Regions from separate parts of the Homo sapiens genome. Here region 2 is linked to region 1. Evidence: promoter capture Hi-C in human tissues and cell types (Jung and others, 2019). All regions are on one chromosome and are shown on one strand. Each heading gives the region's core, a stretch centred on a gene start or on the middle of the fragment in contact. The rest is flanking DNA. Distances are from core to core; before and after follow the strand shown.

Region 1 (6,098 bases), core at 3,059-5,558:
TCTGACACCACCCAGAGTCAACACAGACCCTGATTCAGGGCTTGGTCCTACAACACTGTCCTCACTGCAGATGCCAGTCAAAAACCCCATGGGCCCATCTATGCTTCTGAGCTACTGTTTAAAAACTTGTTAGTCCCATAACCTCTCTGAATTTTAATAATCTGGTAGAGCTACTCACAGAACTTAGCAAAACACTGTAGTTATGTTTACCAGTTTAATATGTGAGACGCAGCCCAGGAAAAGCCAAATGGGAGAAATGCATAGAACAAAGAAAAGAAATGGGGAAAGATGAAACACATAGATAATACTGGAAAATGTTTGTGATTAATAAAATTCTCCATTCTTTGTGTGCTCCAGGAACAATTTATGCAAACAAACACTCTTCCCATTATGACTAAGATAGTGCTCTCTTTTCTTACCTATCACACAGGCAGACACACGCTCTGCACATTTTCTCCTTTTTCTCATTAAAAAAACAGCTGAATTTGTCTTCAGTGCTCAAAATAATTTCTTCACTTTGTCACCCAGGCTGGAGTGCAGTGATGCGATCTTGGCTAACAGCAACCTCCACCTCCTGGGTTCAAGCAATTATCCTGCCTCAGCCTCCCAAGTAGCTGGGATTACAGGTGCCCATCACCACACCTGGCGAATTTTTGTTGTTTTGGTGTTTTTTTTTTTTTTTTGAGACAGAGTTTCACTCTCGTTGCCCAGGCTGGAGTGCACTGGTGCAATCTCAGCTCAGTACAACATTTACCTCCCGAGTTCAAGCGATTCTCCTGCCTCAGCCTCCCGAGTAGATGGGATTACAGGCATGCACCACCACACCTGTTGATTTTTTTTTTTTTTTTGTAGTGATGGGATTTCTCCATGTTGGTCAGGCTGGTCTTAAACTCCCAACCTCAGGTGATCCGCCCACCTCAGCCTTCCAGTAATTTTTGTATTTTTAGTAGAGACAGGATTTCATCATGTTGGCCAGGCTGGTCTCAAACACCTGTCCTCAGGTGATCCGACTGCCTCAGACTCCCAAAGTGTTGAGATCACAGGCATGAGCCACTGGGCCCGGACTAAAATAAAATATTTCTTAATCATACTTTTCTTAAGTTTATTTCCCTCCCTCAGGCTCCTGAACTTTGAGCTACCCTCAGTCTGAGTCAACATACAACCCCATTTTACATTCCTCCTAAGAACATGCTGATTTCAGGGTAAGACATCCTCTGATCTAAAATCTGACTTTTTCACTCTCCATTTGCCATTCACCTCCCACCTCCTTTCTTATCTTGTTTACCTCTCCCTAAAAAAGAAAGCCCTTTTCTGCCTACATCTTTGCAAGCCATAAAGATCTTATATTTAGTTGGTACTTTCTCCTGTTGCAATAATTTTTTGGAATTCATTTTTTTTTTACATAAATCTAATGTTTTTATTTTACAAAGTACAGAAAGTGCCACAAAACATAACGACTGCATCATCAGTAAGACCCTCTCAGTTTCCTTTCATCTTAACCTCAACTGCATCTGCCTGTGGGACCCCAGCTTTCCAGGGCTCTGTAGCTTCTCTCAGGATAAAGGCTCCTTCTATGGCTGGGGTGAGCAGGCTGGACACCTGCACGGGAGGCTCCCCAGAAAAAACTAACTGAGTCTTCAATATCCAGTTGCAGGCTTAATTATTAGCCTTAGCTTGGAGTCACTAGGTTCAAGCTTTAATTTCCATGTCAGAATTACTCACTTAGTTTTTGAAACTATGTGTTTGAAAAATCCAGGGAAATTACTCAAACGCAGTGTTTACATAAGGGAAGGAAATTTTAAGGTTCTTACTTTTTTTTTTTTTTTTTTGAGACGAAGTCTCACTCTGTGGCCCAGGCTGGAGTTCAGTGGCATGATCTCGGCTCACTGCAACCTCCACCTCCCGGGTTCAAGACATTCTTGTTCCTCAGCCTCCCAAGTAGCTGGGAATACAGGCATATGCCACCACACCTGGCTAACTTTTGTATTTTTAGTAGAGATGAGTTTCACCATGTTGGGCAGGCTGGTCTCAAATTCCTGACCTCAAGTAATCAACCTGTCTAGGCCTCCCAAAGTGCTGAAACTACAGGCATGAGCCACTGCACCTGGCTAAGATGCTTGCATTTTATACCCCTATAAGAAAAGCATATATATCTACTTCTTTCAGACAATGTATGTATTATTTTATTATTTATCTTAAAAATAATGCAGTAGGCCGGGCACTGTGGCTCACGCCTCTAATCCCAACACTTTGGAAGGCCAAGGTGGGTAGATCACGAGGTCAGAAGATTGAGAACATTTTGGCCAACATGGTGAAACCCTGTCTCTACTAAAAACACAAAAAAATTGGCTGGACGTGGTGACACACACCTGTAATCCCAGCTACTTGGGAGGCTGAGGCAGGAGAACTGCTTGAACCTGGGAGGCAGAGGTTGCGTGAGCCGAGATCACGCCACTGCACTCCAACCTGGTGACGGAGTGAGACTCTGTTTCAAAAAAATAAGTAAATAAATAAAATAATGTAGTAAAAAATTAGTCATATGGGAACACTTCTAGAAGGTACCATGTTTCATCACTTAAAATTTAGCATTTAACTCAGAAATCAAAATAAAAGGATATAGAAAAAATTTACCCTGCAAAAAGAGGAACTAATGTGTTGATGAATCCATGTAACTCCTCAATTATCTACCACATTTTCCTGTGGAAATATATTCATTGTCTACAGCCAAAATGGAAGAGAGATTTTCCCTATATTTTTCCTTGGTAACTAGCATTCCTGGCAAACATGGTGAAACCTCATCTCTACTAAAAATATGAAAACTAGCTGGGAGTGGTGGCGCTTGCCTGTAGTCCCAACTACTGGAGAGGCTGAAGCAGGAGAATCGCTTGAACCCATGAGGTGGAGGTTGCAGTGAGCCAAGATCTGACACTGCACTCTAGCCTGGCGACAGAGCAAGACTCCGTCTCAAAAAATAATAATAATAATAATAATTAATTGAGGAACATGGGGGACACTTGAGGCCCTGCTTGGGACACATGTGAAAAATGCCAGGGAAAGTCAGTCCCCTGTGGGATGTGAAAATAATTAAGTGGCAGGCAATTAGACTGAAGAGGCTCTAGTCCCCGGATTTCTATTTCTAAAAAAAAAAAAAAAAAAAAATCTAAGCTCAAGTGCATTTTTTGGCAAATTACTACATTAGGGGAAACAAAATTCAGGCTTCAGCAACTATAAACTGCCAATTAAGCTCTAATTACATAACCAGGAAATTTCCACCTTGATTGTACAAATTAAGAAACTACATTACTAAACCTAACAAATTATTGAATTTGGTTTTCCTCATCATGCATTTTATAAATGTCTTTTCTTCAAGCCTCTCCCATGGACCACAAACTACAAACTATAGCTGGGTGCTCTACAATTCTTGAATCACTCTTTGATTAAATTGTTTGATATTTTTGCAGTGACTCCCATAATTTTTTTTTTTTTTTTTTTTTTTTAGACAAGAGTCTTGCTCTGTCGCCCAGGCTGGAGTGCAGTGGCAGGATTTCAGCTCACTGCAACCTCCGCCTCCCGGGTTCAAGCGATTCTCTCACTTCTGCCTCCCGAGAAGCTGGGACTACAGACATTCGCCAACATATCCACCTAATTTTTGTATTTTTAGTAGACAAGGGGTTTCCCCATTTTGGTCAGTCTGGTCTTCAACTCCTGACCTCAAGTGATCCGCCCGCCTCGGCCTCCCAACGTGCGGGGATTACAGGCTTGAACGACCGCGCCCGGCCCCATACAATTTTAATAGCAGAAAAGAGAAACTGTGAACCCCACAGACCAAAGCTCTTCCCATTCATGAACCCGCACCGCGAGTCAGCATTCTCCCCTGAAGACCCTCCGGTGGTCCCTGCACAATCTGGGAGAGACACGGCACTGCGGGTGCAGAGCTGCCCACAGAGCGCTCCAGGCCAGGGGCACAGTCACTGCGCGGGGAAGCGACAGGACGCCCGGGGGCCAGGCTGTCAGCGTAGCCGCCATCTTATGGCTGAATGGGACTGAGGCAGAGCTGGGTAAGGAGAATTCGGGGTGCAGATTGTGGAGCTGACTGAGGGGAGGCCTGAGTCCCGCCACAGACACTTCACCTCTCTCGGGATGCTGGACCGGCACTCTCACCATTTCTAGGCTTCCAGGGGGTCCTGGCGTCTTAGCTGTGGATCTCCCAATACCTGCAGGACACAGGGCCACAGAGGCTGGGCCTCTAGGAGAAGAAGACAGAGAGCAGTGAACAGACGACCTGGAGCTCCAGCTGCAGGGAGAGACAAAGACCCCGCCAAATCCGGAAGCCGTCCTGTTCATTCCAGCTGCGTGCCTGATTGGACGGTTTCCAGCCCAGCGCCTCTGATTGGCTAATGCTTAAGGTCCCGCCCCCTCAGACACTGAGTGACAGAAGATGTGATCAGCTGCTGGGCGGAGTGAAGAAAAGAGTGACAGCCTAAGCTGCAGCCTTTTCAGGCAGGGCTTCCTCCCAGAGCTGAGCCTGGTCCATGCCAGAGCATGGGAACATTTTATCTCTTTTTTACTCTCTGTCTTGTTGAATGTATTCAAAGGTGAACAGAAGTATTTTGCTGTCATATTAATAATACATAAAATTTTTGTTCAAGAGAAAATCAGCTTTTACTTTGGTAATAGTGTATTAACGATTAAAGCTAATTTTAATAAAACCTTATAAATAAATCAAATTTGTCATTTTTGACCACTCCAGATTTACATATATATTTTGTAATCCCTGTAATTTTTTTATCTATTTATATTTTATTTTTATCCACATTCTTCTTATTTTTTCAACTTGAAACAACCTTTAAGTAATTTCAAACTGCTATAAGAGATAGAAATAATTTAGGGTCAGGCACAGGTAGCTCATGCCAGTAATCCCAACACTTTGGGAGGCCAAGGTGGGTGGATCACTTGAGGTCAGGAGTTCAAGACTAGCCTGGCCAACATGGTGAAACCCCATCTCTACTCACAATGTAAAAAATTAGCTGGGTATGGTGGTGCACATCTGTGGTCCCAGCTACTCCGGAGGCTGAGGCAGGAGAATCACTTGAACCCAGGAGGTGGAGGTTATGTAACAGCCCAAGGGGTTCATTTTGCCCTTTGCCTAGACAGAGCCAATTCATGAAGACAGGAGAATTTATGGAGGAAAAGTTAAATGTTAAATTTGAACTCAATTGAACGTGGACACAATGGTCACCAAGTCCCAGAACAGGTCCTGGTTGTGAGCCCCTGAGGTGTTCATCCAGAGCTGTATCAAAGAAATGTCTATTTCATTCTATTACTATACATTAGTTGTTGAAAAACAATAGACAATCACAAAAACAACTTGACCCTTTTGTGTTCCGTGAGGCAAGTCCCAAATGGCCCTCCTCACTGGGCCTTATGCCAAACAACTCGTTACAAAAGAGCTAGGGTCCCAGACCACCCTGAAGCTTCATGAGACTCCTTGTCTGTGCATGAATGGGTGGCCGACTCTGGAGCCTGGGCTGTTTCTTCCTACTCAGTTGGTAATCCTCCATAGTCTAGTGAGGGTAAATATATATATATATCTTTTCCCATCTCCTCTTCTTACTGCAATTTGCTTATTATATCAATCTGTGTATTATATTTATTTGCTTATTATATCATTTGCTTATTATATCATTAGTTTATTCTGTCTGCATTGATATTGATGTGGGTTAAAGCTTGTTTACCATTAAAGTTATTGTATGTATGTCTTTTCTTCTCCTCTCCCACGTTTCCCATACAGAACATTTTTGGCATCACAAACAGGATTTGAAAACAAAAGTGGGCCCCTTTTTGACCAGAAGGATAGGGCTGGAGGCTCAAGGATTTCCCATATCCTGAGATGGGATCACTCCCAGTTCTCCTTCTTTGTGATTGAATGGTTCAGGGGAACTGGCCTTTGTGGGAATTGGGAATCTAAATTAGTGCAATTTAAACCTTTGACTGTGCGTGAAGTGCTGCAGGGGATTCCAGTCACCAAAGGAGATGCTGAGGGAATCTCACAAAGTGGATAGTGTTTGATTGCTGCTTATAAGTTAATGTGTCAAGAT
Region 2 (5,733 bases), core at 1,745-4,244, 68 kb after region 1:
GAGGCTAGCAAAGACTAGCAGAGATTTGCAGGGACAGACAGGAACATTCTGAATTATGGAAATTAGCTATGGCTCAAAGTCCAAGCAAAATCTGAGAGGGCAAATATACAAGGAATAGAGGGGAGGAAGGTAAGGATAAAAATGCTCTTTCTTTTCTCTCCAACAGGACCTTTTGGATTCAAAGTTGTGCTAGCAATAGGAAATGTTACTCTTGATATAAATATATGCCTTATTACTTGCCCCGAATGTCACTTGTTTACCTACATTAATTCAACCTTTGATAAAAATCAAACTATCTTGATAATTAAAGCCAGAGAAGGAGTTTGGATCCCTGTACCTCTAAATAGACCATGGAGACATCACCATCTATTTATATTGTAACTGAGACCCTTAAAAAACTATTATCCCATTCTAAAAGATTTATAGTTGAAGGCCATTGGAGGCTCTACATTTGTGGATTTTGTTCTGGTGGTTGTGTGCTTGTGCTGTCTTCTTTTAGTCTGCAGATGCGAAAGCTGCCTCTGAAGATGAAGCCACCTCTGAGAGAAAGCTGACTTCAAGAACAAGCAATGATAGCTGTGGCGGTTTTATGAAAAAGAAAAGGGGGGCATGTTGGGAGAAAAGCTGAGTGTTGGGAGAGAAGCTGAGGCAGGGCTTGCATGTCTGACATAATGTAAAAGAGTCTTGGAACATGTCTGGGGTCCAGGGTATAAAAACTTCTGTGGCCTTTGGAACACCAAGCTCTGTGCTAAAGGGTGGAAGGCTACACTGAAGCACCATAATCTAAGCCCAGGGCATAAAATCCCTCATGGCTTGAATAGAATCCAGGGCTCGTGGCCCTGGAATGTGTCTAGACTTGCTGGCTCCTTGCTCCTTGCTCTTCCAGGATTGACTGTATCTTGAGTTAAAAGAACCTGCTCTCCATTATCTCAAGTAGCAGAGCATATGCTAAACCATCACAGCTGTAGATCATGCACTTGCCCTTTCGACCCCACATTCTCACCATCTGTTTCTTTGTTGGATTACCAATAAATAGCATGGCATCCCAGAGCTCGGGGCCTTCGCAGCCTCCATACACTAGCAATGGCCCCCTGGTCCCACTTTTCTCTCTCAAACTTTTTCTCAATCCTTTGACTCCACTGGACTTTGTCACCCCCACAACCCGGTGTTGGGTCTGATCACACCAACACACCAATACTGATATAATTGGCTAATTGGTATCACCTGGGCTCATTTAATTGGCTGATTGGAATCACCTTGGGCTAATCTAATTGGCTAATTGTATTAACCTTTATGATATAATTGACTAATTGGTATCACATGGGCTCGTTTAATTGGCTGATTGTAATCACCTGGGCTGAGCTAACTGGCTGACTAGGGTCACATGGGCTGAGTTCATTGATTGTGTCTTGAGGAGAATGAGTAAGGTAATAACCTTTTACATACTTTTCTTTTGGGGCTTTTTGTCAAGACATACTCACAAATAGGCATTAATTAGACATATGTATATAAGCCTTTGTGTTTGTTTATGTTTTCCTATATACATGTCTTTTTTTTTTTTAAAATAGAGTTTCATTCTTGCTGCCCAGGCTGGAGTGCAATGGCATGATCTCAGCTCACTGCAACCTCTGCCTCCTGGGTTCAAGTGATTCTCCTGCCTCAGCCTCCTGAGTAACCAGGATTACAGGCATGTGCCACAATGCCCACCTAATTTTTTTGTACTTTTAGTAGAGACAAGGTTTCTCCATGTTGGCCAGGCTGGTCTTGAATTCCCTATCTCAAATGATCTGCCTGCCTCGGCCTCCCAAAGTGCTGGGATTACAGGTGTGAGCCACCATGCCCAGCCATATGTGTCTTATATCTGTTTCCAAATCTACAGAAGAAAGTGTCTGGCCAGGCGCGGTGGCTCACGCCTGTAATCCCAGTACTTTGGAAGGCTGAAGTGGGCTGATCACCAGAGGTCAGGAGTTTGAGACCAGATTGACCAACATGGTGAAACCTTGCCTCTAAGTAAAAATACAAAAATTAGCCAGACCTGTTGGCAGGCACCTGTAGTCGCAGCTACTCAGGAGGCTGAGGCAGTTGAATCACTGGAACCCAGGAGGCGGAGATTGCAGTGAACCAAGATCATAGCACCACTGCACTCCAGCCTGGTGACAGAGCAAGACTCCATTAAAAAAAAAAAACTATGCTTACTTTGTATAAGTTAAATGATGATAGATTTAGGTAATAGCATACATCCATTTGAGTAGCATTCTAGGTATATTTCATACGGCAGAAAATTTTATACCTCTATGGAATTATCTTTGTATATTACTATTGATATCAATTACGATCAACACTTTCACCTTCTACATCTTTATTTTTTGTGAATATAGGTACAAACCTGGATACATCTGGATGTAGGTAGATAAACACACACGTACAGAATTATATAATTATAATTACATAAATGTTTATTAATATACAAGATTTCAGCAAATGACATTTTTAATACCTTAGTATATACTAAGAATGCAGATGTGGACTTACTAGTCTACTTTATGGCACAATAGAAATCCATAATGGAACACAGACATACAATGATGTTTACATAAACAAAGCTTCACTGTCAAAGGCAAGGTCTTGGAAACAAGCTGACAATACAGCAATGTAATGCTTTATGACCAGATTAGAGTCTTTGGGCCCTGCTTTTCTTCTCAGTGTAGAAAAATGCTGTTTAAATCTGCCATTCTGATCTAATGAATCTACAGTCACTATTTAGATTATTGGCTGATTTGATCCACCTGTGCAGAACTATTTGTCTTATTGAAATCAACTAACCTGAGCTAATTGGTTAATTAGATACTTCTGAACTGAACTAATTGACTCATTGGAATCACAGTTCTAACTAACTGGCTGATTGGATTCTCTAGAATTTCTCTAGCTAATTTCCCGATTAAAATCACATGAGCTAGCCAGGTGCGGTGGCTCATGCCTGTAATCCCAGCACCTTGGGAGGCCGAGGCAGGTGGATCACCTGAGCTCGGGAGTGCAAGACCAGCCTGCACAACATGGAGAAACCTTGTCTCTACTAAAAATACAAAATTAGCTGGGTGTGGTGGCACATGCCTGTAATCCCAGCTACTTGGGAGGCTGAGGCAGGGGAATCCCTTGAACCCGGGAGGTGGAGGTTGCAGTGAGCCGAGATCATGCCATTGCATTCCAGCCTGGACGACAGAGTGAGAGACTCCGTCAAAAAAGTAAAATAAAATTACATGAGCTGAGCTTTCTGATTAGGATCACTGAGGCTGAGTTAATTGGCCAATTAGAGTCACCTGGGCTGATCTCATTGACTGATTGAAATTGTTAAGGCTGAGCTAATTGGCTGTTTAAAGTCACCTAGGCTGAGCGAATTACTGATTGGAATCACCTGGATTGAGTCAATTGGCGAAATGTAATCACCTGGGCTGAGCAAATTTACTGATTGTAATTGCCTAAGCTGACATAATTGGCCTAATGGAATCACTTGCGCTGAGCTAATTGGCTAATAGGAATCGCCTGGGCTCAGCTAATTGGCTGATTGAAAACAGCTGACTTGAGCTCATTGGCTTATTAAATTTGCCTCATGGAATCGCATTCATCTATCTTGAGGAGCATGAGTACGGACATAACCTCTGACTTACTTTACATTTGTGAGATGTTATAAAACATAGTCACAAATTCAGGTTACATATGTATGTCTCTATATGTTTCTATGACCCTGGGTCTTTGTATTTTTTTTTTTTTTCTTTTTGAGACAGAGTCTCATTTTGTCACCCAAGCCGGAGTGAAGTGGTGTGATCATGGTTCACTGAAACTTCCACCTCCCATGTTGAAGCAATTCTCATGCCTCAGCCTACCTAGTATCTGGGATTGCAGGTGTGTACTACCATGCTCAACTAAGTTTTGTATTTTTAGTGGAGACGGGATTTTGCCATGTTGGCTCAGCTGGTCTCACCATGCCCAGCTAATTTTTGTATTTTTAGTAGAGATGGGGTGTCGCTATGTTGGCTTGGCTGGTCTTGAACTCCTGGCTTCAAGTGAAGGACCTGCCTTGGCCTCCCAAAGTGCTGGAATTACAGGCATGAGCCACTGCACCTGGCTGTATATATTTCTCTAGCTACATATGTTATATCTGTATCTAAATCCAAAGAAAAAAGCATCTGAAAACACCCTGAAATTTGCTTTCAGTATAGCAGTCCATCTTAAAGTCAGAGACCTCTTGTTTAATTTTCTTACCCAAAATGTTACTACTTGAGCAAACACAACAATATGATAAGATTCTATTTCTGCCAGGCACTGTGGCTCACATCTGTAATCCCAGCAGTTTGGGAGGCTGAGGCAGGCAGATCACCTGAGGTCAGGAGTTGAAGACCAGGCTGACCCACATGGAGAAACCCCGTCTCTACTAAAAATACAAATTTAGCCAGGTGTGTTGTTGGGTGCCTGTAATCCCAGCTACTCGGGAGGCTGAGGCACGAGAATCACTTGAACCTGGGAGGTAGAGGTTTTAGTGAGTCAAGATGTTGCCATTGCACTCCAGCCTCCGCAACAAGAGTGAAACTCTGCAAAAAAAAAAAAAAAAAAAAAAAAAAAAAAGCCGGAAACAGTATCTCATGCCTGTAATCCTAGCACTTTGGGAGGCTGAAGTGGGCAGATCACAAGGTCAGAAATTGGAGACCAGCCTGACCAACATGGTGAAACCCCATCTCTGCTAAAAATACAAGAATTAGCCAGGCGCGGTGGCGTATGTGGTTTTAAACTCAGCTACCCAGGAGGCTGAGGCAGAAGAACTGCTTGAGCCTGGAAGGCGGAGGTTACAGTGAGCTGAGATCGTGCCACTGCACTCCAGCCTGGGTGACAGAGTGAGACTCTGTCTCAAAAAAAAAAGAAAAGAAAGAAAGAAAGAGAAGAAGATTCTATTTCTATGTCACATATTTGAAAATAAAAGCTCTAAAATTGAGGGAAGCTTTAAAGAGAATTATTTCTCATTTGCAAATTTGGATTAAGGCTTTCAAGCTAAGGCTAGTTTATCCATATTTTCCCATTCACCAGAATTAAAAAGGCCATGTTTGACTTGGCAATAAATGACTCGATGGCCTTAGTGCACTTTTGCTAACAGATTGTGAGCAACAAAAACCAATTCTTTCTTTGAAAACATCAAATGCAGCAAGATGCAGGTCAGAGTATACCTCCATTTGTGTACTCTTATGGATAAAATTTAAGGGGCAAATAAGATTTTGCAGTCATTGAAGTTTTTCTTTACATTGCTATAAGTACAAATACCTATTTATCCTTTTACCTCCTATATCTTTACTCTGTATTCATATGGAAAAAATGATAGCTAGATCTGTATATAGACATACATGGGTAGACAGATAAACACACACATATAGAATTATGTGGGTTTGCCTACGTAGATATTTATTTGTACAAAAGATATTAATAAACAAACTTTTTTTTTTTTTAGATGGAGTCTCCCTGTGTCGCCCACCCTGGAGGGCAGTGGTGTGATCTCGGCTCACTGCAAGCTCCGCCTCCCAGGTTCACGCCATTCTCCTGCCTCAGCCTCCCGAGTAGCTGGCACTACAGGCTCCCGCCACTACGCCCGGCTAATTTTTTTGTATTTTTAGTACAGACGGGGTTTCACTGTGTTAGCCAGGATGGTCTCGATCTCCTGACCTCGTGATCCGCCCACGTCGGCCTCCCAAA

What was found. The method cuts DNA at HindIII sites, captures the fragments that hold promoters and counts their contacts. A contact is called where the count stands out against the background at its distance.
Region 2: a contact is called between a fragment that was not itself captured here and the fragment with the promoter of ZNF66 in region 1, in 3 of the 25 tissues and cell types used here (H1 embryonic stem cells, mesendoderm cells and thymus).

The regions. Positions count from the first base shown.
Region 1 is chr19:20,774,514-20,780,611 of GRCh38, reverse strand. It overlaps ZNF66 (zinc finger protein 66), which reads right to left and starts at 4,308. Exons shown (of 4, transcript NM_001355197.2): 1 at 4,162-4,308. The coding sequence starts at 4,164. The HindIII fragment of the contact is 10,177 bases long and covers 1-6,098 here.
Region 2 is chr19:20,705,184-20,710,916 of GRCh38, reverse strand. No RefSeq gene overlaps it. Among named protein-coding and RNA genes, the nearest start is that of ZNF626, 46 kb to the right of the region's middle. The HindIII fragment of the contact is 7,019 bases long and covers 1-5,733 here.